Regions from separate parts of the Homo sapiens genome. Here regions 2, 3, 4 and 5 are each linked to region 1. Evidence: promoter capture Hi-C in 16 types of primary human blood cells and fetal thymus (Javierre and others, 2016). All regions are on one chromosome and are shown on one strand. The core of a region is centred on a gene start or on the middle of the fragment in contact, and the rest is flanking DNA. Distances in the headings are between cores, read along the strand shown.

Region 1 (4,334 bases), core at 372-2,871:
TCCTCTTCTGAATTCTTATATAGAACTTACTGGCCAGGCACAGTGGCTCATGCCTGTAATCCCAGCAATTTGGGAAGCCGAGGCGGGCAGAACACCTGAGGTCGGGAGTTGGAGACCAGCCTGGCCAACAGGGCGAAACCCTGTCTCTACTAAAAATACAAAAATTAGCTGGGCGTGGTGGTGCGTATCTGTAATCCCAGCTACACAGGAGGCTGAGGCAGGATAATCGTTTGAACCCAGGAGGCGGAGGTTGCAGTGAGCCAAGATCACGATATTCTAGCCTGGGCAACGGCCTGTTTTGTCTCAAAACAAAACAAAACAAAAAGAACAACAAAAACTTACTGTCTTTATATAATTCATTTGGCACTGTTTTATGGCACGACATCATTGATCAACTATATTTTTGCTTCTATCTCAAACCTTTCTCAGGCCGTGTTTTTGTTTTTGGCAGTGTTCTTGTTGCCTAGCACAGTGCCATCTCACTTATTTGTTGATTCTGTTTCCTTAAAAACAAAGATGAGACCAATTCAAATCCTCATTACTGCGGGCAGCAACAAATCATCCAAACTCTGGCACTTCCAGTTCTTTCGAGCTTTCCTACCAGGTCGGAGGGTTGTCTTAAAACTTGAGGGAGATGAACTGAGTAAGCGATTACACTGAAAGCATGGGAGGGAAAGGACGTTCCAAACGTCCAATCCATCATCCTTTTGCAGCCTCTTAGTCACTGGGATTTTGAAATCTCTTTCCAAAGACTAGCTATGGCCCTAAATTGGAAATAGGCTACTTGAGAACACAGTGGATTCATAGTTCATCTCGGGCAGTTTTAGGAGAAATGCCACCAGCTTCTGCGTTTGAAGGCCAAGGTTAGCTGTTCATGGCGTGAGCACCTTCCTGCTTCCAACCTCCGGTTATCTGTAAATACCCAAGTCCTCTAATTTAGGACGCAGGTCATGGGAAGACGCTGGTTCTTAGGGCAGAAGTGAGCTCACATTCCCAGCATTTTTCTTAAACTTGGCAGAACTGCACTTTAACAAATTAAAATCCATGTGAATGAAAAGGAAAACTTAAGTAGGAAACAAACTTAAGCTTGAGTCAGTTACAGCATGGTGAGGATGTCGGTTACAGCAACACTCAGAGACCGATGAAGGAGAAATTCCAGTGGTGGGCTGGGAGACCGTCTCCATTCCAACTCCACCGCTTTTCTCTACAGAGACCCACGCACGCCAGCTCCCGCCTCAGTCACAAGGGAACGCCCGCGTGGGCAGGCAATCGTCCTTGGTGAGCCGGGATCTCCTCACCCCGAGAGCCGCAGGCTCCGCTGACGCCGGTACAGGTCTCGCTGCGACTCCCTCTGGGCGCGCGGAATCCTGGGACTTGTGGTCCCTTCCGCGCGCTGTCCGCCCTAACCGGCGCAGAGAGGACTACACTTCCCAGGATGCGTCGGGGGAAGAGGCCACAGGGACAGGCAGAGGGAGGGGGCGGCCCCAGTCCTCCGGGGCGTCGCTGTTTCCAAGCGGCGAGATCTCGCCTAGTAACCGGCAGCTGAGGTTCACTAGCGCGGCGTTGTGGCCCCGCCCCCGGAGCCCCGGCTGGAGGAAGAACCTGTCTCCCGCGGCGCCCCAGTGACGAAGTCCATCCCCGGGTGCGGGAGGCGGGGAGGGGAGGGCAGGCAGAGGATTTCGCTCGCTCGCCCGCGCGGGATCCGGGACGCGCCGGTGGCGTCCGCTGGCAGCAGAGGTTAGAGGCAGAGAGCGCGCGGATGCTCCGCGGGCGAGGCTGGTTCGAGAGTGGGAGGAGTGCAGGGCGCCGCCAGGGCGGCAGTGCGCGCGGGCCGAACAGTCCTGAGGGCGGGCATCCCTCGCGCAGCGCGCCGACCCCCGGGACGTGTGCGTCTGTGGGGGGTTGCTGTCCCCCGGGTCCCTCGGGCGACCCCTCTCCACGCTGGGCTCAGGGCAGGACCCGGGATTCCGTGGGACCCGGTGTTTAGCGCAGAGGTTTCTGGGGAGAAGTACACGATTTTTGCCACTTGTTATTTGATTTCTCCTCGACCAGGAGCGTTTGTAGGTAGCGCACTCCCTCCGACTGCACTAGTGCCTCGTTTCTTCCGAGTAAGACAATCTTTCATGATGCGGATTGGAGTTGCTGATCAATGAGAGCTGCTAAGTTCTTTATGGCTTTCTCGGTGAAGAGAAGGTTCACGGAGGATATGATTATTAAACACACACATGAAAACTAATTGGAGCATCTAAAAAATGACCATTGCATATTCGCCCTCGCTTATTAGGGAAACAGCAAGCGTTCCTTCAAATCGCATCAGCAACTGCCAGGCAGCAGCATTTACGCATATTTCATATCATTAAGGAGATGGAACTGGAGAGAGAAAGCGGGAGTAGGGGACAATTTTTAAAAATACCCAACTTGGTTTAGTTTGGGGATAATTTTCTTGGATTGGGTGACTTATGCGAAAAATCTGTTTCTTTCTTCCTCGCTCTCGCTTCCTGGATATAGACTGTCAATTTCGGATCCAAAGACGGCGATGGCAGAGCTCACCCGGGTTGCCTGTCAAATCAAGGCTATCGCAGAATAAATCCCGCCGCCTGCCGCGAAGCCCCGGCGCACCGCAAACTTCAGTGAGCGAACTGGGTGATCGCTGTTGGGATATGCAGATTCCTGATGTAAAAGGCGGGGTGGCCCCCCCGAGAGCCTCTCCCGGGGGCCGGAGCCCGCAGGTGCAGTGAGGCGCGCGCGCCGGTGCCGGCGCCCCCAGAGCCGCCTTGCCCGGGTAGAGGGAGCCCGGCGCCCGGCGGGGTCTGGCGGCCGCACACCGGCGGCGGCGGCTTGTCTGCGGCGGCTGCAGCGGATGATGGTGGCGGCCGGCCCGCTGGGCTGTGCCTGTGTGTCGCCGCGGAAATCAGCGCCCTGCGCCGCGCGCTGAGCCCCTGCAGGTCCGCCGCAGCCCCAGCCTCGGCGAGGACGGCCCCGGCGCGCGGGGGGGCGGGGGGCGCGCGGGGTCGGCTTATCATGGCGGATCGGACGGCGCCCCGCTGCCAGCTCCGGCTGGAGTGGGTGTACGGGTACCGGGGTCACCAGTGCCGCAACAACCTGTACTACACGGCAGGCAAGGAGGTGGTCTACTTTGTGGCTGGGGTCGGGGTGGTTTACAACACCCGCGAGCACAGCCAAAAATTCTTCCTGGGACACAACGACGACATTATCAGGTAAGGGGGTGGCCAGGGGCGGCGGGGAGGGGTTGCGTGTGGAGGCTGGGAAGGTGGGAAGCGGTTGACCTGGGGTCGGATCCGGGAGCCCCGTGGAATAGAGGATTCTCTCTGGAGCCGCATGGAATTACTGAAGGGCTGCTGATTCTAGGGCCAGGGCAGAAACAGTGTGGGGAGTGTAGGTGAGGAGGGAGAGATGTCTTTTCGCTGTATCCCTCCGGAATTCTGGCTTTTAAATCTCCAAGGAGTTGAGTGTTCTGATGCTTTCTTGCTGTTCTTTCCTGCTACAAGTGGAAGGAGCCTGGGTAACTATGAAACACTTCTTCCTTCCCTAACCAGGTGCACGGTAGGACCAATAACCTGAAGTGTGGGCATCATCTTTGGGAGGCTCCTCAGTGGGTTTCTCAGTAAGCAAGAGGATTAAAAAAGATCTAAAAGAAATTTTACTACTGGTAATTTGGAATCTTCATCTCAGATGCTTTGGACCTGGGAAATTTCTGCAGTGGGTGGGGAGTTTGTTCTCTAATATTTCACTTGGCAGTGTTTTAATGCCCAAAGCATATTTATACACTAAATGGATGCTTCCACAGCATCATTGAGGTTATTAAAGGCTGGCAGCTGCTGGATCACAAAATCCTACCAGCCAGCCCACACAATGACCAACATCTGCTAGCGGATGGCCCAAGACTGACTGACAGGAGAGCTCATTTGGATGAATGGCCGTTTTAGGGGCCCTCCCGATTAAATGGAAAGGGGTTATATTGTGATTCTTGGCCCTATCCTCTCATCTTTGGACCAGACACATTTTCCTCCAGCCCTTGTCAGCTTTTATGTGAGCAAACAAGGTATGGGCCAGATGCTGTTCACAGGGAATCCTTTTCAGCCTTCAGCAGTTAAGGAAGATTTTCGTCATATGGGAGCCTCAGCCCACAGGGAAAATGACTTGCTGAGGATGGACTACAACTGACAGAGACCATATTTATACCTTCCAAACTTGTGTGTTTCATTGATGTAGAACAACTACCATTACATTCTCAGAATATTGCCACTTTTGCTCTAAGTTTGTCTTTCACAATGAAATAAATGAAGTGATGTCATGTCCATGCTCCTAATTTC
Region 2 (4,746 bases), core at 1,188-3,687, 440 kb after region 1:
GGCTCAGACATGCACAAAAGCCCTGTCCCTGCATCAGCTCAGAGGGGACTTGAATGATAAAATATTTATTTGGTGATAAGACCTTGTGTTCCAGATCAAATGTCCACTCTTGCCTGGATTACCTTACAGTAAAGTCAACTTAATGACAGTGTCGGCTGCCTGCTGCCCCCAAATCGCTGGAGGGTCACTCACACCAGCTTGCACAGAAGCCATCCCAGCCTCTCAGTTGGGGAAACAGACCAATCAACAGAGATCCATATCTTCGATAAGCCACGCACCCCATGTACCCGGCCCACATGTGCTGTTCAGGACCACCAGGCTTCAGGCCTTTCTGCTTCCCTTTCCTTCCTCAGTGATAACACCAGTGATGATGGGGTATCTTTCCTCCTCACCCCTTCCTTTCTTTGGTGCCTTGTCTCTGACAGTGGCTGAAAGCCATGTCCCTGCATCCCTGCCCTGCATGATGACAGCTCCCACAGAGGTTCCTTCTCAGAGTTCTAGCTCTTCCTGGTTCTGGTACTGTGATTTCCTTCCTCCTCGTGCCCTGTCTCCATGGGAGGTAATGGTTCCTGACTGAGGCAGCCTCTGGGTACTCAACATTCCTTAGTGGTTCTCTTAACCTTGCCCAAATCTCTGGCAATAATCTCTTTATTAACGTCTTTTTATTTGAACCTTTATGGATAAATTCTATTTTCCTGTAAGGCGGGCCCTGACTGATATATATACTCGGAGATACCCATGTCTGCATCTAATTAGCTGAAAGGGCCAGCCATATCCTCATTCGTCAGCAGGAGCAGAGAGACAGCAGTGCCCGGTGCTCATTCACTCATCTTCGACACAGAGCTTCCACATTCCAAGCAAGTCAAGCTTGCCCTTCCTTCCTCCCTCATCTTTCTAGAGGCAGTGGCCTAGCTGCACATTCTCATAAAGCAGCTCAGCGTGGGCTGCCAGCAATCTAACATCAGGATGGAAGAAAACAGAGGCCTCAGAGGTTCGGCATTTTCTGGAATCTAATGATTCTGCTGATTCTCCTGCGTTTAGCAATAGCCGTTTCAATTTCAGGATGCTTAGATCACTTCTTTGTTCTTTCTGCTGTGTAGCTACAGCATTACCGTGAGTCTGGGGGAATTCCTGTTTGGGGGTAGGCCTTTTTTAAGGTTTTGTTTTGGTTTTTGCCTTGTTCTGAATAAGTCAGGTCCATGTACTTGGTAGAAGGTCAAGTTTGTTTGGGATCGTCTCCTGCAGTGTGTCTACAGCTGACCTCTACTTCAAATGGTGCCTCTCTGTCCCTAGGCTCTGACATAACTCCCTCCTCTTACTTCAGGGTACCTGTCTAAGTCTGGGAGATCCAAAACTTCTCCTTCTCTTTTGTATTTACCTGCCTCCAACTTCCAGGTTGCTGCAACCTTCACTGCCAAGTCACTCAGCAGGTTACTCCGATGCTCATTCATTACCCATTTATTTACTGAAGGTCTGCCATGTGCCAAGGAAAACAACAGTGACCAAATACTTATCCTGGCTCTTCAGGACCTCAGAGTCTCGCGGGGAGGGGAAGACAAGTAAACAAGACGTTTTGGATTCTGCTGCTTCCACGGGGAATTACAGAGGTGAAATGGAAGGGCTTGGGAGTGGGGTCCCTGCCGGGCTCTGCCTCCTGACCATGAGCATTCTAGGCCAGGGATCAGGTTCACAGGTAGCCTATTTTCCACACCTCATAAGAAATGTGTTTCGTAAATAAGTAACCACACCTGAGTTACTATGCAAATAAACTCAGCTCTGTCCTCTGAACAGCCAAGTTCACTTTTCCACTAGCCTTTTCTCTCCTGCTTCTACCTCCTCTATCTTTACCCTGTGCTGCTAATTTCTCAGTCTGTCATTACTGAATGAGACACCCAGCCTGGAACAGAAAGGACAGTTTGAAGGGGGTCTCTACCTGGCATCTGAGCCGAGCTCCTTCTAAGCGCGTGTTTACGATGGCTCCGACTCATGCCTTAAAAAAAAAAAATCGCTACAGAAAATACCAAGACTGATAGCTAAATCCAATTAAATTAAGATTAATAAAAAGGGAGGGAGGCCAGCAGAATGAAGCCAGCAGGAAACCTCTCTTGCTGCAGTGTGCTGCTCCATGCATTTCAAATGCAGCCCAACACAAGTCCTGATTCACCTTCACTTACCCTTACACAGAAGCCTCGCAGACAGGCTAGGCGCAGCTGCAAGATGAGCTGCTAAGAACTTGCTGATTTCAATACAGACTGGTTTCCAAAATGTTCTGGGGTTTTAAAACTTCACTCCCCCAAACACTTCAGGCTATGCCATAACTAATCCCACATCTTGCGTTTAGTTGGGAAAAGAGACTTTGGTATTCTATGTGGGTGAGATAAGAAGCAAAGACTAACTAGGGAATCCGGCATCTCTTTTGTTGCCATTTCCTGTTGTGAAAATCCTTCAAATCAAAATATTATTGAACACTGGAGTTAGAAGGAGTGATGGAGATTACTCGGTTCCATGGCCTTTCCCTGTTTTGGAGAACTAATGGAGGAAACAGGCCTTGACTGAGCTCCTACAAACGAGTGCCTCAGCTAATGAAGGCTGCAGTCCAGTATGCTGTTGACTGCACTACTGCCATGGGGATTCATCCACAAGGTGTTTGCAAAGGACAGAGAAGGAATTCGCAGCCACGAAAGGGAGAATGGAAACTCTCCAAAGAGGAAGAAATCAGCTTGACATTTAGCTTGCCATCTAGTCTGGCTGTCACGAGGCCATGAATCTGCCTGATGAGAGGTAAAAGAGAGAAATGAAGAAGACGAGGAAAGAGGGAGGGAGGAATAAATTTCAAAACAAACAGAATCTGTGGCTCTGCACTCACTCCCTGTACTGGGGTGGCAAAGGGTTGGGTGGGAATGAGGGGAAGGGAAATATGTTCCTGGAGGAAAAGGCTTCTTATGTAAAGGGTGAAGGAAAGACTCAGACCCAAGTAGAAGCCAGGGGAAGCTGCTGTGGTGGACGCTGTGACGCTCCCCAGGTCCCGTTTCATGAATGAAGAGTTTAGTCCCCCACATGGTCGAAAAGCTGCTAGAGCAAGATCCATGGCCATCAGCACTCTTGGGGACTTCCTGGGCTGAAGGAAACTACCCTGCCCAAGTCATGCCTACTTCCAGTGGCAGCCCCCATCCAGTGACTCATCCACAGAAGTCTAAAGGCCTGGCTCCACACACCAACTGGGGATACCTCAGAAGGGCCCTCCCAGCTTCAGTGCATTCCAAGTGGTCAGCTGAGCTCTTTTCTGGGACTACTTCAGAGCTTAGCTTCTCCCTCTGCCCAACCCTGCTTTCTTCTCTTCCCTTCCACAGTGTGGATACGGAGAGCACTTCCTAATGAACAGCCTACACACAAACCTCTGTCTCAGAGTCAGCTTTTCAGGGAGCCCTACCCACAACACTGCTTATGAAGTAAATGTGCAGAGCCCTGCTGAAGGCAGAGAGAAGATTGTCATCTGTTGAGTCTGGTCAGGTAACTCACACCGTGAAGAACATTGCCCAAGTCCTTATTTAGAGAATTAAGTTTGGTGCCACCTTACAGTCAACCACAACATGTGTATTGGGCCATCCAAGCATCAGAGCAGGGGTACTGAAAAGGTGATCCCTTCCCTCACAGAACCTGCCCTTCCTCAACCAATCAGTCAGATATAGGTACAGCCAGTTCTTAAAGACCTTTAAAGAGCACTCCAAACCCACCCTCGGAACTGTCACCCCTTATAAAGTTCATAAACCTTAACTATCAAAAACATCTCCCTGCAATAATTTAAAGTTTTAACTTAAATTAAATTCCTGTGTGAATTTCTTTTTGTTGTCTTAAGCAGAAGTAGAAAACATGTATGAGGTTCTCTGTTCAGTAATCCTTTATGGTTCATCTGTAATATTTCTTCAAGGTTAATGATCCCATTTCCCACTAGCTTTCTGGCAAAAGGTCATGTTTTCAATCCTATCATCTCTGTAGCTTTCTGTAATAAAGCTTGGTTTGAATGTCAGTCAGTTTAATAGCTATGCCAATTTCTCACCTAATAGAGCCAAGTCTTTATCATCCTCTTTGACAAATGGCACAAGTGGATGCAATAACAAGTCACATTCTAAAGCCACTGAGGGCACTTTGGTTCCCACCCTTCCAGGCAAGCATTTCCACAGCCTGGGCTCCTAACTGAAGATACAAAGGGATCAAGGGAAGAAGAAAGGTTAAACCTAGGAACACGGAAGCCAATGTGCCCCCAGAGAACGGAAGAGGCGGTCTGCGAGTTCAGAAGGCAGGCAGCTCATGCTTGAAGGTGATAGCCTTCTGCCTACAAGAGAAATCTGAGCACATCAGTTACTTCTGTCTTACCAAGAATCCCTGAGATACTGAGATTTCTGAGTTGAAAGTGAGATAAGGCCTGTTTTGTTTTGTTTGTTTGTTTCCATGTACATAGCTCAAGATGTTTTCTTGGCCGGGTGCAGTGGCTCACTCCTGTAATCCCAGCACTTTGGGAGGCCGAGGCGGGTGGATCATGAGGTCAGGAGATTGAGACCATCCTGGCCAACATGGTGAAACCCCACCTTTACTAAAAATACAAAAATTAGCAGGGTGCGGTGGCACGTGCCTGTAATTCCAGCTACTCAAGAGGCTGAGGCAGGAGAATCGCTTGAACCAGGGAGTCGGAGGTTGTGTGAGCCCAGATGGCGCCACTGCACTCCAGCCTGGTGACAGAGTGAGACT
Region 3 (4,822 bases), core at 676-3,175, 460 kb after region 1:
GAAAAGCATGACTTGTGATAAAGAGGGCCTCAAAAAATAAGAGTAATGGAAGAGGCTTTCCTCTAATTTTTCCAACAGCTACAGAAAGGAGAAAATTTTCTGAGTCAAATACTTTAAGAAATAGTTTGCTTTTTCTTATCTCATATTACTATTTTTGTGCCTTTGCTTTTCTAAAACTTTAACAATCTAAAATTACACATTTATAATTTTTAACTCATGCTTATAGATTAAACTTTATCTAAATGACTAAATATCACGTGCCATGTGAAGATGGAGGCAGAGATTGGAATGATCTGCTACAAGCCAAGGGAGGCTAAAAATCGCTGACAACCACCAGAAGCTAGGAGAGAGGCATGGAATGGAATCTCCCTTAGAGCCTCCAGAAGGAATGAACCCTTGACACCATGATTTCAGAGCTCTGGCCTCCAGAACTGTGAGCGAATATATTTTTCTTTTAAGTAATAGGGTTCTGCTGTTAATGAGGCCAATTTGCTATGACCGAAGAGAACAAAAGGTGCAGCTGCAGATACACAGAGGATAAAATTCCTAATGCAAACTATCCTGCTTTAATGACCAATCAAATGAGGCAAATATAAAACTGGACATTTAAAGGAATATACTTAGTCTAACATACCCTAACTTTGAAAATAATTCAATGAGGATGACAAATTAGGATCCTGAAATTTACATGTAGATTCAGCCAGTGACCAAAAAAGTATGTCAATCCCAAATCAGCATGACTACAATTCATTTTTTATTAAGCTGTATGTACACTCAATGCTTGAACTTGCAGGGGAGGAAGACTGTCAATTTGAACTCTTAATTAATCCATCAGATTATTTTCCTTTTTGTGAGCAGAAAATAAATTTACCACCATATCTTATTTCCTAGATTTTTCTTTAATTCTCCTCCTCAAAGTCAAGTGAGACAGTTTAGAGAGAACTACTGGATATGGATGTCTTGGAATTTAGAGAACAAAAAGACCAGAGCCTGATATTTGCCTGGAAAGTTTAAAGGTGAAAGGCTAGAGTGAGTAAAGAGAATTAAAGTACGAGCAAATTCTACTTTCACAAGATTGCATGTTCCTTAAGGGTGAAGGAGATTCCATGAAAGGCGGGTAGGCTGGTTGTCTTGAAAAGGCTCTCTCAGAGAGGTCTGCATGCAGACCAGATAACCCCACCTGAGAGAGTCTTTGGGGGTACACACCACCAGAATCATTAGCAGCCAGCTAAAGTAATACCTCCTGAATCAATAAAAGGCACAATGGAAAGTCCCCAGTGAGGGAAGGCCCTAAAAAACAAAGACTAAAGCAGTAAACTAGGAGGCAACATTGGGCATCTACCACACCCAAGAAACATCAAAGCCTAATGACCACTGCACCAGTTGAGTAAGACCTTTCCTGTCCCTTATATAACCCCACTGTAAAGCTGCCTAGTGATTAGAAGAGGAGAGAGTAGCAGAGTAAAGAAGAAGCAAACATGTCTCCTGAGCCTCAATAGGTTCTAGAGCCAAATCAGAGCCTAACCAGGGTAAGGGGAAAAATTTTAGATTAAACAAGAGATTGCAGTTTCTATTTAGTTTAGACTAGACTTTTGGGTACCTAAAAATAAAACTATTAATATCTAAAAGCGAGTGAAAAAAAGCTATGTGACATGACCAAGATATTATCCAGTAAAAGAAATAGGAACGCCAACACAGCCCTTTTAAAGGGCAATGGCGAGGAAGAATAAAGTTGTTTCTTGCTTTGTACTCTGTCAAGTCTAGCTTGAACTTTAGACTCTATCAAGTCTAACTGATCTATGATCCAGTTTCATAGATCAAAGCTTGGTAAAACCAGGTATGAAATAAAAAATAGATTCTGCGTCCGATTGAGGGTCTACTAATGAAATGTATGGATTTTCACAAGATAATATATAATACCTATTTTTTATTGTTCACAGACTTTTTAAACTTACTTCTCAACTCTCAGATATACTGTATTGTAAAGAAAATTAATTCTGAATAAGTGGCATGGTGCTAAAAACCCCTAAAGCTTGTATAGTGCTTTGAAATTATCAGCTGGTCTTAACCAATAACCCTAACAAGGTGGGTATCATTAACATTCCTAGTTTTCTTTTCTTTATTTCTTTTTTTGAGATGGAGTCTCGCTCCGTCGCCAGGCTGGAGTGCAATGGTGCGATCTCGGCTCACTGCAACCTCTGCCTCCCAGGTTCAAGCAATTCTCTTGCCTCAGCCTCCCATTTAGATGGGACTACAGGTGCGTGCTACCACGCCCGGCTAATTTTTGTATTTTTAGTAGAGACAGGGTGTCACCATGTTGGCCAGGATGGTCTCGATCTCTTGACCTCGTGATCCGCCTGCCTTGGCCACCCAAAGTGCTGGGATTACAGGCGTGAGCTACCATGCTCGGCCTGTTTTCTCTCTTTTCTTTCTTTCTTTATTTTTTTTTTTTTTTTCGAGACAGGGTCTCACTGTGTTGCCCAGGCTGGAGTGCAGTGGCACGATCACGGCTCACTGTAATCTTAACTTCCCAGGCTCAGGTGATCCTCCCACTTCAGCCTCCTGGGTAGCTGGGACTATAGTAATGTGCCACCACGGCCGGCTAATTTTTTGTATTTTTTGCAGTGACAGAGTTTCACCAGTTGCCCAGGCTGGTCTTGAACTTCTGGGCCAAGCAATCTGCCTGCCTCAGCCTCCCAAAGTGTTGCTATTACAGGCATGAGCCACCACACCTGGCCAACATTCCTGTTTTTCAAGTAATAAAACTGAGTTTCAAGTAGATAAAGTAGCTTGCTCAAAGAACACAATGCAAGTGTATAGTAAAGATAACATTGAAACAAAGATATTGTGCCTCCTATCCAACATTTTATAACATTCTATCTTCTTCATGTTTTGTGATAAGTTAAATATATATACATTTACACACACATATGATGGCAGAAGATGAAAGATTTCTTAGGCCAGGCGCGGTGGCTCACACCTGTAATCCCAGCACTTTGGGAGGCTAATGCAGGTGGATCACAGGGTCAGGAGTTCGAGACCAGTCTAACCAACAGGGTGAAACCCTGTCTCTACTAAAAATACAAAAATTAGCCAGGTGTGGTGGCACCTGCCTTTAATCTCACCTACTCAGGAGGCTGAGGCAGGAGAATCGCTTGAACCCAGGAAGCGGAGGTTGCAGTGAGCTGAGATCGTGCCACTGCACTCCAGCCTGGGTGACAGACTGAGACTCCATCTCAAAAAAAAAAACAAAACACACACACACACACACACACACACACACACACACACACACAAAGATTTCCTATACCTACTATAGATTAACAAGATTCACGACAATTCAATTAGACTTTCAGGTAAAGACGGTAGACTGAACACACACATTCAATTTTAGTTCATTAAAATCATTAAAATAATGGTAAAGGGATTTCATAAGAATAAATTTAAAAGGAAATAACAAAATTCTGAAAGCCAGAAAATAGAGAGTAGAAACTAGCATAGCAGACGCAGAGCCTTAAAAGTTTGATTCCTAAACTACCAATAAGGAAAACCAAGAAGAAGCTATCCAATTCACACCAAACAACACAGAAAGTCTCAGGAATTGCCAGCACCGGGAACCTCTGTAATGAGATGGGCTAAAACTAGAAATCATGGCTGAAAGGCTATTTAAAAAGCTATTCCTCACCCAGTCAGATGATACCCCCTTCCAGGACCTAGAAAAAGCTGAGGCTTATTCTCTGAAAAAGATAAAACAAAAGGTGTCTACATGAAGACAACAGGCACAGTTGAGGGTAGAAATACCAAACTATTAATATGCCTTTTTTGAATTTCCAGAGAACTTTCTTCATATCACTAGAATCACTCTACATGTAAGCTCCGTGATGCAAATCATTTTTGCAGGTTTCATTTTCTGCTGTATCCCCAGCACCTAGAACAATGCCCAGCACATATTAGATAATCAATTTTGTTGAATGAAGAGTAAATGAATAAACAAATGAATGAGCTGGCTCCACACTTGTCTGCCTCTTTATCTCTCTTCCCAATTAGTCCTTTATCTCATTGAAAGGATTGGGTCTTACTAATCTTTGTATCTTAGTACCTAGGTCATAACAGTTTAATCTACAGTTAAAAACAGTCTATTTATTAAAATTTTCTGAAAATGTTATAGGAAAATACTGCTGTGAACATTATTTTATTAGAAGTTCTGCTTCTACCAATGATATCTTTGAGCTTTAATATGTCTTAAAAACTAGGTTTTATACAAACTTTTAAAAACAGAAAGCAATTGTCTAAAAAATAAGTATTTTAAGATTTAAGTAATTTTAATTGATTCTAAGCTATCAAACTTGAGATGGGCCTTTAAAGATCTAAGACTCTGAAAACATGACAGTGTGGCTCACATGGACTACTATTCCTGGCTATATCTTTCCCTCTCCTTAGATAAAATAAAACAACCTACATCCACAGGGGAATGAAGTCTGAATTTCAGTTATGTATGTGATTCAGGAAGTCAAAGCCAACAAATTAACAAAGATCAGCTTCAGGCTGTTGAAACATTAGAGACCAGGCAGAGACAAACATAAAGCCTTTCCAGAGAATACACAGTAATCCCACAGTGGGGAAGAAATTAAGCTCACAATATTATCAATGTAAAAAGCTTACAATATTATAAATAAAAATTATCAGTCACACAAATCAAAGCACATCCATGAGCATGAGTTAGGATACCCAATAATCTGGAGAATTTATATACTTCAGAACTACAAACAACTGACTATAAAAGAGAGTATAAAATATCTATGTCTGGCTCAGCACAGTGGCT
Region 4 (4,475 bases), core at 469-2,968, 390 kb before region 1:
TAAGTGGTAAAGCCAGGTTTCAAACACTGACTGCTCCCAGACCCTAAGCTCCTAATCACAGTGTGATGGTTAGGATAAGACCAGATAAGCAGGTGGTGTTTAATACAATGCCTAACAAATGCCTGGTCCCCTAGTGGAAGCTCAATTGCTATTAGTTCCCCCTGCTTTCTGGTTTTCAACCCACTTGCCCCATATTTATTTACTCATCCACTCCTTACTCACCAAACACACACACACACAATGACACATTCACACACACTCCAGTCTTTAACAACGAAGTCCACACTCAGGTATTTAGGTCACTAGGTGTCAAATCTACACATATATTCTTCTTCCTGATAGGATTTCAGGTCACATACATAAAATGAGTCCTAGGACCAACCTCTGCTCTCCCATCACTCTCCAAGGTGAATGTAAACACACACACGAACACTGACTCTGGATTCCAAACATATACGTATGCATAGCCTGATATAAGGCAGAATTCAACTCTGGACTTTTCTTTTTCCGTTATCCAGGGAAATGCGTGAGTTACTATGACAGATGCCAAAGACTTTTGGCTCTGGTAGTGGAAATTGGGAGGCAATGGTGAAATGAAGTAAGAAATTCCAGGGCCAGAAGGTGGATGCAAGTCAGCAACGGCTTTTCCCAGGAGCTTGCTCTTTTTGGGTAAGTGCTACACATACAAGCCCCAACCCGCTGCCTAAGCTACCCTATTCTGAACCCCGCTCAGGCTGCAACAGATGACACACAGCAGGGAGCCTCATTTGCAGGAGATGAGTGTTCCCTTGCTCTATTTTAATCCTGGCAGCCCAGCCGGGGAAGGTTTTGTCAGAAATGGTGGAAAACAGTGACAACCAAGCTTTCTGGAGTAAAGGCTAGGCAGCTCAGGAGCAACCAATCACGACTCGCACAGTATTGTTAACAATACAAGGGAAAACAAGTATCCTTCCCGCCGGCCCGCACTTTTGCAGCCAGCTTGGGCGACCCGTGGCAGCGCTTTGACGACGACCTGCCGGGCTCCGGAGGGCGGGCACGGCGGAGACGGCAGCAGCGCTGCCCCGCAGCTCCGGAAACAGCCCTTCCCCTATCCTCAAGGACCAAATCAGTCCTGATAAACACCCCTCCTGGCCCTACAATGGGAAGGGCAAGTTCAAACGCAGGGCGTCGAGCCCACACGCCTAGAGACGCGGCCAGGCACCCCCGCCCTCCTCGCCGCGCAGTCGCGCACAGTGAGCAACAGTCCAGCACCAACCCGGCTTAACTGCGCCTGCGCACTCCAGGAGTTTCCCCCCACGCCCCTTTCCGAGGACTAGCGCCCGTCGCTTAGCAACGCGCGAGTCACAGTCGCCGCGCTTTGCGCACCCTTTTCCTGGCAGGGCTGCGTCCCTGTTCTTCCCAGGAGGCTCCTCGCTGCCTGGTGCCGTAGAGGCCCATGGAGGAAAAGGAAGATAAGCATCAGTAAGTGCTGGGGTTTGGTGTCTTATTTCCCTTTCCAAAAACTATTTTCCTCCTTCAGGGGGAGGCCGGGATCCAGCATGGACAGTCCAGGCCAAGCTCAGACAGCCCCCTTGCTTCTCTAATTTCCAGTTGGCTGAGCGCTTACAACAATAATTTTTAAAACGCACCGTTTACTGAGCACATACTGTGTGTCAGGGACTTGACTTGCATTACCGGATCTAAAATTCTTGAAGTCATCCACTCCTTCTCACAATTATTAGCAGATTCTGTAGTCTTTACCTTTAAAATTATCCAGAATCTACCACTGCTCATCACTTTCAGTACTGTGCCCACCCAGTCCCAAGTACCAGCTTCTCTTGCCGGGATGCTGCAACAGCCCTCCAGTTGGTGGCTTTGCTTTTCCCTTACCCCTCTGCAGCCTCCTCGACACAGCAGTCAGAGCTATCCGTTTACAGCCCAGGTTAGATCGCCGTTCTCCATCCGACATCGTAGAGTAAAAGCCAAGGCACCTCCAATGGCCTATGGAGTCTACACAACACGCCCCTTACCGTTTCTTGCCTCCCTCTGACAGGACTCTGCTACAGCAAACAGGCCTTTCTGCTATCATCTGCAGTGATAAAGACCAGCATCAGCAGCACCTGGTTGTTAGGAATGCAAATTTTGGGGACTTCCCACCCCCGAGACACACAGAATCAGAAACTCTATGGCTGGGGCTCAATAATCTGGCTTCAACCAAGGCATCCAGGTGATTCTGATGTACCTTAAATTGAGACTATTAATCAAGGTAGTACATACAGCTAGTTAGGAATGATGTGGAGCCAGGGATACCCTCTTCCAAAGCCTGTATTTTTGTCCCTGGAACAATGGTTCTCACACTTGAACGTGCATAAGAATCAGCGAAACAGCTGGTTAAAACACGTTCCTGGGAACCAGCCCCAGAGATTCTGAGTTTGCAGTGCTTTCTAAAAACAAGTAAACAAAAAACTAGGTACATAAAGGAAATGGGCCCCATAAATTTGTATTTCTAACAAGGTCACAATTGATGCCAATGCTGCTACTCCAGTGCCCATACTTTTAGAAGCAGTGCGCTAAGGATGGTTACACTTCTGCTGGGAAGCTTTGGCAGTTACAGTTCACTCTGCTAGAATGCTTTTCCCACAAATATGCACTTAGCTCTCTCTTCCCCTCTTTTTTCATTTGCCACCTTCACAATGCAGCCTCCACCCTACCTGAAAATGCAAACCTACCTCCTACATACATACACTCCCTTTTCCCATTCTCTATTTTATTATTGTCCTTAGCACTTAACAGACTATATAATTTACTTTTTCATCCGCCTTTCCCCATTAGAGTGTAAGCTCTATGAGGGCAGGAATTTTTGTTTTGTCACTGCTTTATCATCAGTGCCTCCAACAGCACCTGGCACGCAACTCAATAAATATCTGTTGAAACAATGAATTATTCAATGTTATTCTCATATCTCTTACAATAGGTATTGTTCCTATCATGCAAATGAGACAAAGGCTCAGATATGGCAGAACTGGGATTCCAGTCCCTGTCTGACTCACTTCAGAGCCCATCAGTGTTTTTATCTGTGCTTTTCTTCTGGCAAGAGATTGCTCGAGTCATATATTTCACACTTATTTATCAACCCGTAGGCATTCATACCACAAGTGCTTAATCAAATGAATTTAACTATATAACAAATAGCCCCAGTCCTTTTCTTCAAGGACTTGATCACTACAAGTGTATATTGTTGGGTGATAACTATGAGAAACAGGTGGAAAAAACTGATGCCAGAAGCCTACAATAATAAATTAATTGACCCCAAAGACTCTACCTTTAAATAAATAATTGTATCTCTGGAAAGGTAATAGAAAAAGGTTTAGAAGTTTTTTACACTTTACCAGTAATCAGTTTTTCCAAATCCTTTGCAGAAAGTAATTTTTGGGAAGCAGGGAACTAGAATCCAAGGATTCTGAATGTTGTTTTTATGTGTACTGGAGGGGTGGTTGAGGGTATTCAAACAAAGCTGGAGTAAACTCCAGCAGATTCACCAGAAATATGTAAATGTTATAATGGCAGTCCATTTACCTTGGATGAACAGGACACTTTTCCTGATGTTGGGCACATGGTGAATTCAACAATGTACACCTTCATGGAACTTATTGACTAGTAAAGGATATTTGTAGTGCTTACTAAAAACAAGTAAACAAAAAACTAGGTACATAAAAAATTGTGGTGTTAATAAAAGAAATGAACAAAGTACTAAAATAGAGAATACATGTGGTAGAGGAAAGAAATCTAGGAAAAGCTGCTGAGGAGATGGTTTTAAGCTGAGACCTAAATATCCTGAGCCAGCTGTGCTGGGAGCTGGGGAAGAGCTGTCCAGGCAGAGCGAACAGCATGTGCAGGTGCCGTGAGGGAAAAGAGATTGATGTGTCCCTGGAACTGACAGAAGGCAGTCTGGTTGGAGGGTCTTGAGTGAAGTCGAAGAGGTTCACTGGGGCAAGTCACACAGGACCTCAGAGCTACAATTAGGAGGCAGTATTTTATTGTAAATGAATGGAAAACTACTTGAGGGTTTTAACTGCAAAATGATGTGGGCGAGGCACAGTGGTTCACGCCTGTAATCCCACCACTTTGGGAGGCCGAGGCTGGCAGATCACCTGAGGTCAGGAGTTAAAGACCACCCTGGCCAACATGACGAAACCCTGTCTCTACTAAAAAAAAATACAAAAATTAGCCGGGCGTGGTGGTGCGCGCCTGTAACCCCAGCTACTCAGGAGGCTGAGGCAGGAGAATCACTTGAACCTGGGAGGCAGAGGTTGCAGTGAGCGGAGATAGCACCACTGCACTCCTGCCTGGGACAGAGTAAGACTCCGTCTCAAAAAGGAAAAAAAGAAAAATGATGTGGTAGAAGAGATGGACCTGGCATTCGTTTGGAGGAAGGCAGGTGTTATACTTTAAGGGCTGTGTATAAGATTAAACGGTGCTACCTGCTTTCTCTGTGA
Region 5 (4,264 bases), core at 1,722-4,221, 320 kb after region 1:
TAACATGCTCCTTTTCAGAAATGTTTTTATAACATGGCAAATCCTTTAAGTTTACAATAATATAGCACTAAAATAGCATGTTTTCTAAACACTATTCCATGCAGTTATTTATCAGTGGTTCCACATATACCCATCACTTCATTTTAAAAAGGATTTGAGAGAGTTTGCAAATCACTAAAAAAAAAAAAAAAAAAAAAAAAAGACCACAAATTTGACACTCAGTTGCCCAGGAACCAATCTGAAACATAATTCACCATATCCATGAGGAGTATACTACTTATTCCCAACTTTTAAAAATAAGAAATGGCTTAACCAGAAATTATTCAGAATCACAAAAATGAAAGTGGGGAATGGACAGGGCATGACTTTCTTGTGTTTAGAAGCATCCACTTCCTGGGAACTTGGACTTTATATTAAGAACTGATACCTAATATTTAAACCATATGTCACTCAAAATCTTAAAATTTCTAATACATGCTACTACGCCAATAAAAATGATCATATAATAAATGGCTTCATGATAGTAAAAACTAGTAATTTTTAAGCCCCAACCCATAATCTGTATTTATGAGCAATATTCAATTTTATACAAATTTTCATGGCAATTAAATTTTGGCAGTCTCTGAAACTGATTTAATAAGCACTAATATTCTTTTCTTTGTCTTTACATTCATGGTTTCCAAGTCCTATCAATTCGTCTTTCATACAGCCTCTTCGTAAACTAACTATAAAAACAGATTCACAGCCAATTAAAGAAAGCGTGCTTCTTATACTCTTATATTCCTCCCTTCTATTCCATTTTCACTGAATGAACAAATAATGAAATAGTTCAGGCCCTACTCATCTTTCTCAGAACTACTGTAATAGCTTTCTAAATAATTCATCTGCTTTTCCTTCCCACCTATCTTGAATATTGTCACCAATTTTCTAATACTGCTTTCACGGTGCCTTGCCTCAGTTCAAATAACCTTCAATGGCTGTCTTCCCAAAGCCAAAAGCTCTAATTCGAGAAGGGGTGAAAAACAATAACTTTAGAAACAACAATTAAAAAAAACAATTTTGGTTTCATAATATAAATTACCAAAAGCAAGGGCAACTGGATAGCAGAGCATGGATTAAAGTGGAATGATAAAATCCAAATTCCTTAATTTGGCATTCAGTATCTTTCAGAATCCAGATCTACATATTTTCGGTCTTAATTAACCTTGGTTTAGAACATGTCCAGAGACCAGTTCGAAGTCACCCTTAATTATGTTTGCACTGCTCTCAAATCGATTTCTAGCCAGAGTTTTCTGCGCATATCCTCAAAGCCTAACTTAACCAACCACTAAGCCAAGTATTTTCCCATGAAAAATGGCCCTCAAGTGAGAGGTTTTAGTCTCACTTCAGTTACTGCATTGCGATGGAGATGCTCTGGGCACAACAGCAAACAGTAAAATTACAACTTATTAACAGATGAAAATCAGGGCTTACTCATAAATAACGTAAACAGCAATGTTAAACAGACAAGTGTCAGTGATCTAGAAACCCTCTCTTCCAGGCAGGCTAGTCTATGCTTCTAACCCTGCTCTGCACATTTCTCACCTTTGTCTCACATCAGTCCTCTCAGTAGCCCTGAATCTTCCAAACTTATTTTAGTTCCAAAATCACAATATAATTATTTAATAAGCATATTTTTATTTTTTTAAAAAGCTAAACATTTTTACCATTGCCTGTTAGAGACCCCCAATGATCTGGGTGGGTAAGGCCACCTCTTCACTCTCCCACTAGTTTTTCTCACTAGTCTTACACTAGATTCTCAGACACAAAGAGCTCATTCCTGCCTCAGGGTTTTGCCCTGAAGTTGCTTGGAAATGTTTTCTCTCTGCAGCTCAAATCTCACCTTCTAAGCCTGTCTTAGTGTCACCTAACCTAAAAAAGCCCCCATAAATCCCCATCATTCTCTATGCCATTATCCTGTTTATTTTCCTCATAACACCACTATTCTGGGTTCTTTATTTATGTGCTTATTATCTGTACTCTCCCAAGGGGGAGCATGTGTCTTGCTTATTGCTATACCCTCAAAGCTTAGAATAGATCCTGTCTCTTGGTAGGTAATCAATAATGGGTTGAATTAATGAACAAACTCTTGAATGCATTAAGAAATCCAGACACATTGAAAATGGTTAACTATCCACAACCATAATCACAATGTTCTTACACTTACTAAAAAAACTAAAGTTTCCCAATAGGTATCATCAATATGGAATTAGGGAACTCTGTAGAACAGGCAATATTCTTTCCCCATTGCCTTCCAACCTCAGCATTCCAACACACAAGATTCCAAGAGAGTGCTGTCACCCCCTGAATCCCTAATGTTCAAAGACAGAACTATTTTCTTTGTTCCCATACCAATACAAGATTAGTATGCTTTTGTCAATCATTAAACTTCCTGTGGCCAGGCGCAGTGGCTCATGCCTGTAATCCCAACACTTTGGGAGGCCAAGGTGGGTGGATCACTGGAGGTCAGGAGTTCAAGACCACCAGCCTGGCCAACATGGTAAAATCCCGTCTCTACTAAAAATACAAAAATTAGCCAGGCGTGGTGGCAGGCGCCTGTAATCCCAGCTACTCGGGAGGCTGAGGCAGGAGAATCACTTGAACCTGGGAGGCGGAGGTTGCAGTGAGCCAAGATTGCGTCATTGCACTCCAGCCTGGTGACAAGGGGGAGACTATCTCAAAAAAAAAAAAAAAAAATTCCTGTTTAAAAATATATTTCATATTTTTCTCTTACCTCAGTTTCCCTCAAGTATGTCTTTTTCATAAAGAAAAAGGAAAAGATTGAGTTACTCCTCATCTTCTAAGACCTTTAATATGGCAATTAGTGTTTTGAGTAGTATGGGGGTGAGGAGTCCGTCAACATCAAAATATTACTAAAAAGCATCGCAATTGGCTTATTTTCCCCCATTATGGAGAAGTGAATTGAGAAAAAAAAAAATCAGACTGATTTTCTTTTAAGAAATGAATCACCTCTAACATCCTACAAGGCTATGAAGATTTCCAAGCAGGCAGTTACACTACTTGATTCTTGACCTTTTATACATAAAGGTCCTACTGCTAGTGGGACACTTTCTGTCCCCGAAGTAGCAAGTACTTATGAATGTATCTAATATTATGCATTCTCAATCTCTAACAAACGTGATTTTTTTCGCTTCCAAAATAATTTCCCAAGATGAAAACGGCAATAAAACAACGTGACTAATAATAACATACAATCAGGAACTTAGGTGAATGAAAGAACTTGAAAACTATTTTACAGACCATACATAGTCATGCCTCGCTGAACAGGGGGAACAGGATCTGAGAAATGTATTGTTAGGCAATTCTGTCGTTGTGCAAACCTCACAGTATACTTACAGAAACCTAGATGGTAGAGCCTACTACATACCTATATGTAGGCTATATGGTATAATCAATTGCTCCTAGGCTACTAACCTATACAGGATGTTACTGTAGGCAACTGTAACACAATGGTATTTGTGTAGTGTTTATCTAAACATACCTAAAATAACACTGTACAAAGGATTAAAAGATGGCACACGTGTGCAGGGCACTGGCCATGAACAGAGCTTGCCAGCCTGGAAGCTGCTGTGGACGTGAGTAGTGAGTGAATGTGAAGGCCTAGGACATTACCATGTACTACTGTACAACTTACAGACACTCTACGGTTAGGCTACACTAAATTTATCTTTAGATATATTTTTTCAATAATAAATCAACCTTAGCTTACTGTATCTTTTCTATTTTATAAACTTTTTGGCTCTTTTGTAATAACGTTTAACTTAAAACACAAACACATTTTAAAGCTATAGAAAAGAAATTTTATATTCTTATTCTATAAGCTTTTTTCTATTTTTTTTTTAACTTTTGTTAAAAACTAAGATACAAACGCATTACCCTAGGCCTACACAGGGTCAAGATCAAGACGTCGCTAGGCGGCAGGAATTTTTCAGCTCCATTACAACCTTATGGAGCCACCGTTGCAAATGCGGTCTGTCCTTGACCTAAACGTCGTTATGAGGCACGTGACCGTATTTTGATTCTGTAACCTAAAACATATCCTTCTGAAAAACAGTATTTCTAACCAATATATATGAAAATGTCTGTCTCAAAACATTTCTCTGTGTCTCATGGTAAATCTGCCACGAGTTCAATTAGCCAATTCCTGGCAAGGAATCCACAGGTTTTCCCTTCTTTAGGAATGTCAACCATTTTGCCTTTTATT

Evidence for each region. Contacts are between HindIII fragments. The CHiCAGO score rates a contact against its expected background, and 5 or more counts as called.
Region 2: a contact is called between a fragment that was not itself captured here and the fragment with the promoter of EML6 in region 1, in 1 of 17 cell types (naive B cells). The highest score is 5.3, in naive B cells.
Region 3: a contact is called between a fragment that was not itself captured here and the fragment with the promoter of EML6 in region 1, in 1 of 17 cell types (M2 macrophages). The highest score is 6.2, in M2 macrophages.
Region 4: a fragment that was not itself captured here is called in contact with the fragment with the promoter of EML6 in region 1 in 1 of 17 cell types (fetal thymus); the score reaches 5.2 in fetal thymus.
Region 5: a fragment that was not itself captured here is called in contact with the fragment with the promoter of EML6 in region 1 in 1 of 17 cell types (fetal thymus); the score reaches 5.3 in fetal thymus.

What each region holds. Positions count from the first base shown.
Region 1 is chr2:54,722,041-54,726,374 of GRCh38, forward strand. It overlaps EML6 (EMAP like 6), which reads left to right and starts at 1,622. Exons shown (of 42, transcript NM_001039753.4): 1 at 1,622-1,737; 2 at 2,509-3,218. The coding sequence starts at 3,022. RefSeq lists an enhancer at 1,155-1,374 and silencers at 1,515-2,004, 2,676-2,825. The HindIII fragment of the contact is 5,681 bases long and covers 1,085-4,334 here.
Region 2 is chr2:55,162,556-55,167,301 of GRCh38, forward strand. No RefSeq gene overlaps it. Among named protein-coding and RNA genes, the nearest start is that of CLHC1, 67 kb to the right of the region's middle. The HindIII fragment of the contact is 3,144 bases long and covers 866-4,009 here.
Region 3 is chr2:55,181,667-55,186,488 of GRCh38, forward strand. It overlaps CLHC1 (clathrin heavy chain linker domain containing 1), which reads right to left. Exons shown (of 13, transcript NM_152385.4): 10 at 1-78. Among named protein-coding and RNA genes, the nearest start is that of CLHC1, 48 kb to the right of the region's middle. The HindIII fragment of the contact is 209 bases long and covers 1,822-2,030 here.
Region 4 is chr2:54,329,541-54,334,015 of GRCh38, forward strand. CIMIP6 (ciliary microtubule inner protein 6) reads left to right here and starts at 1,344. Exons shown (of 5, transcript NM_001100396.2): 1 at 1,344-1,461. The coding sequence starts at 1,436. The HindIII fragment of the contact is 1,716 bases long and covers 861-2,576 here.
Region 5 is chr2:55,044,610-55,048,873 of GRCh38, forward strand. All of the region lies in intron 1 of RTN4 (reticulon 4), which reads right to left. Among named protein-coding and RNA genes, the nearest start is that of RTN4, 3.7 kb to the right of the region's middle. The HindIII fragment of the contact is 1,815 bases long and covers 2,065-3,879 here.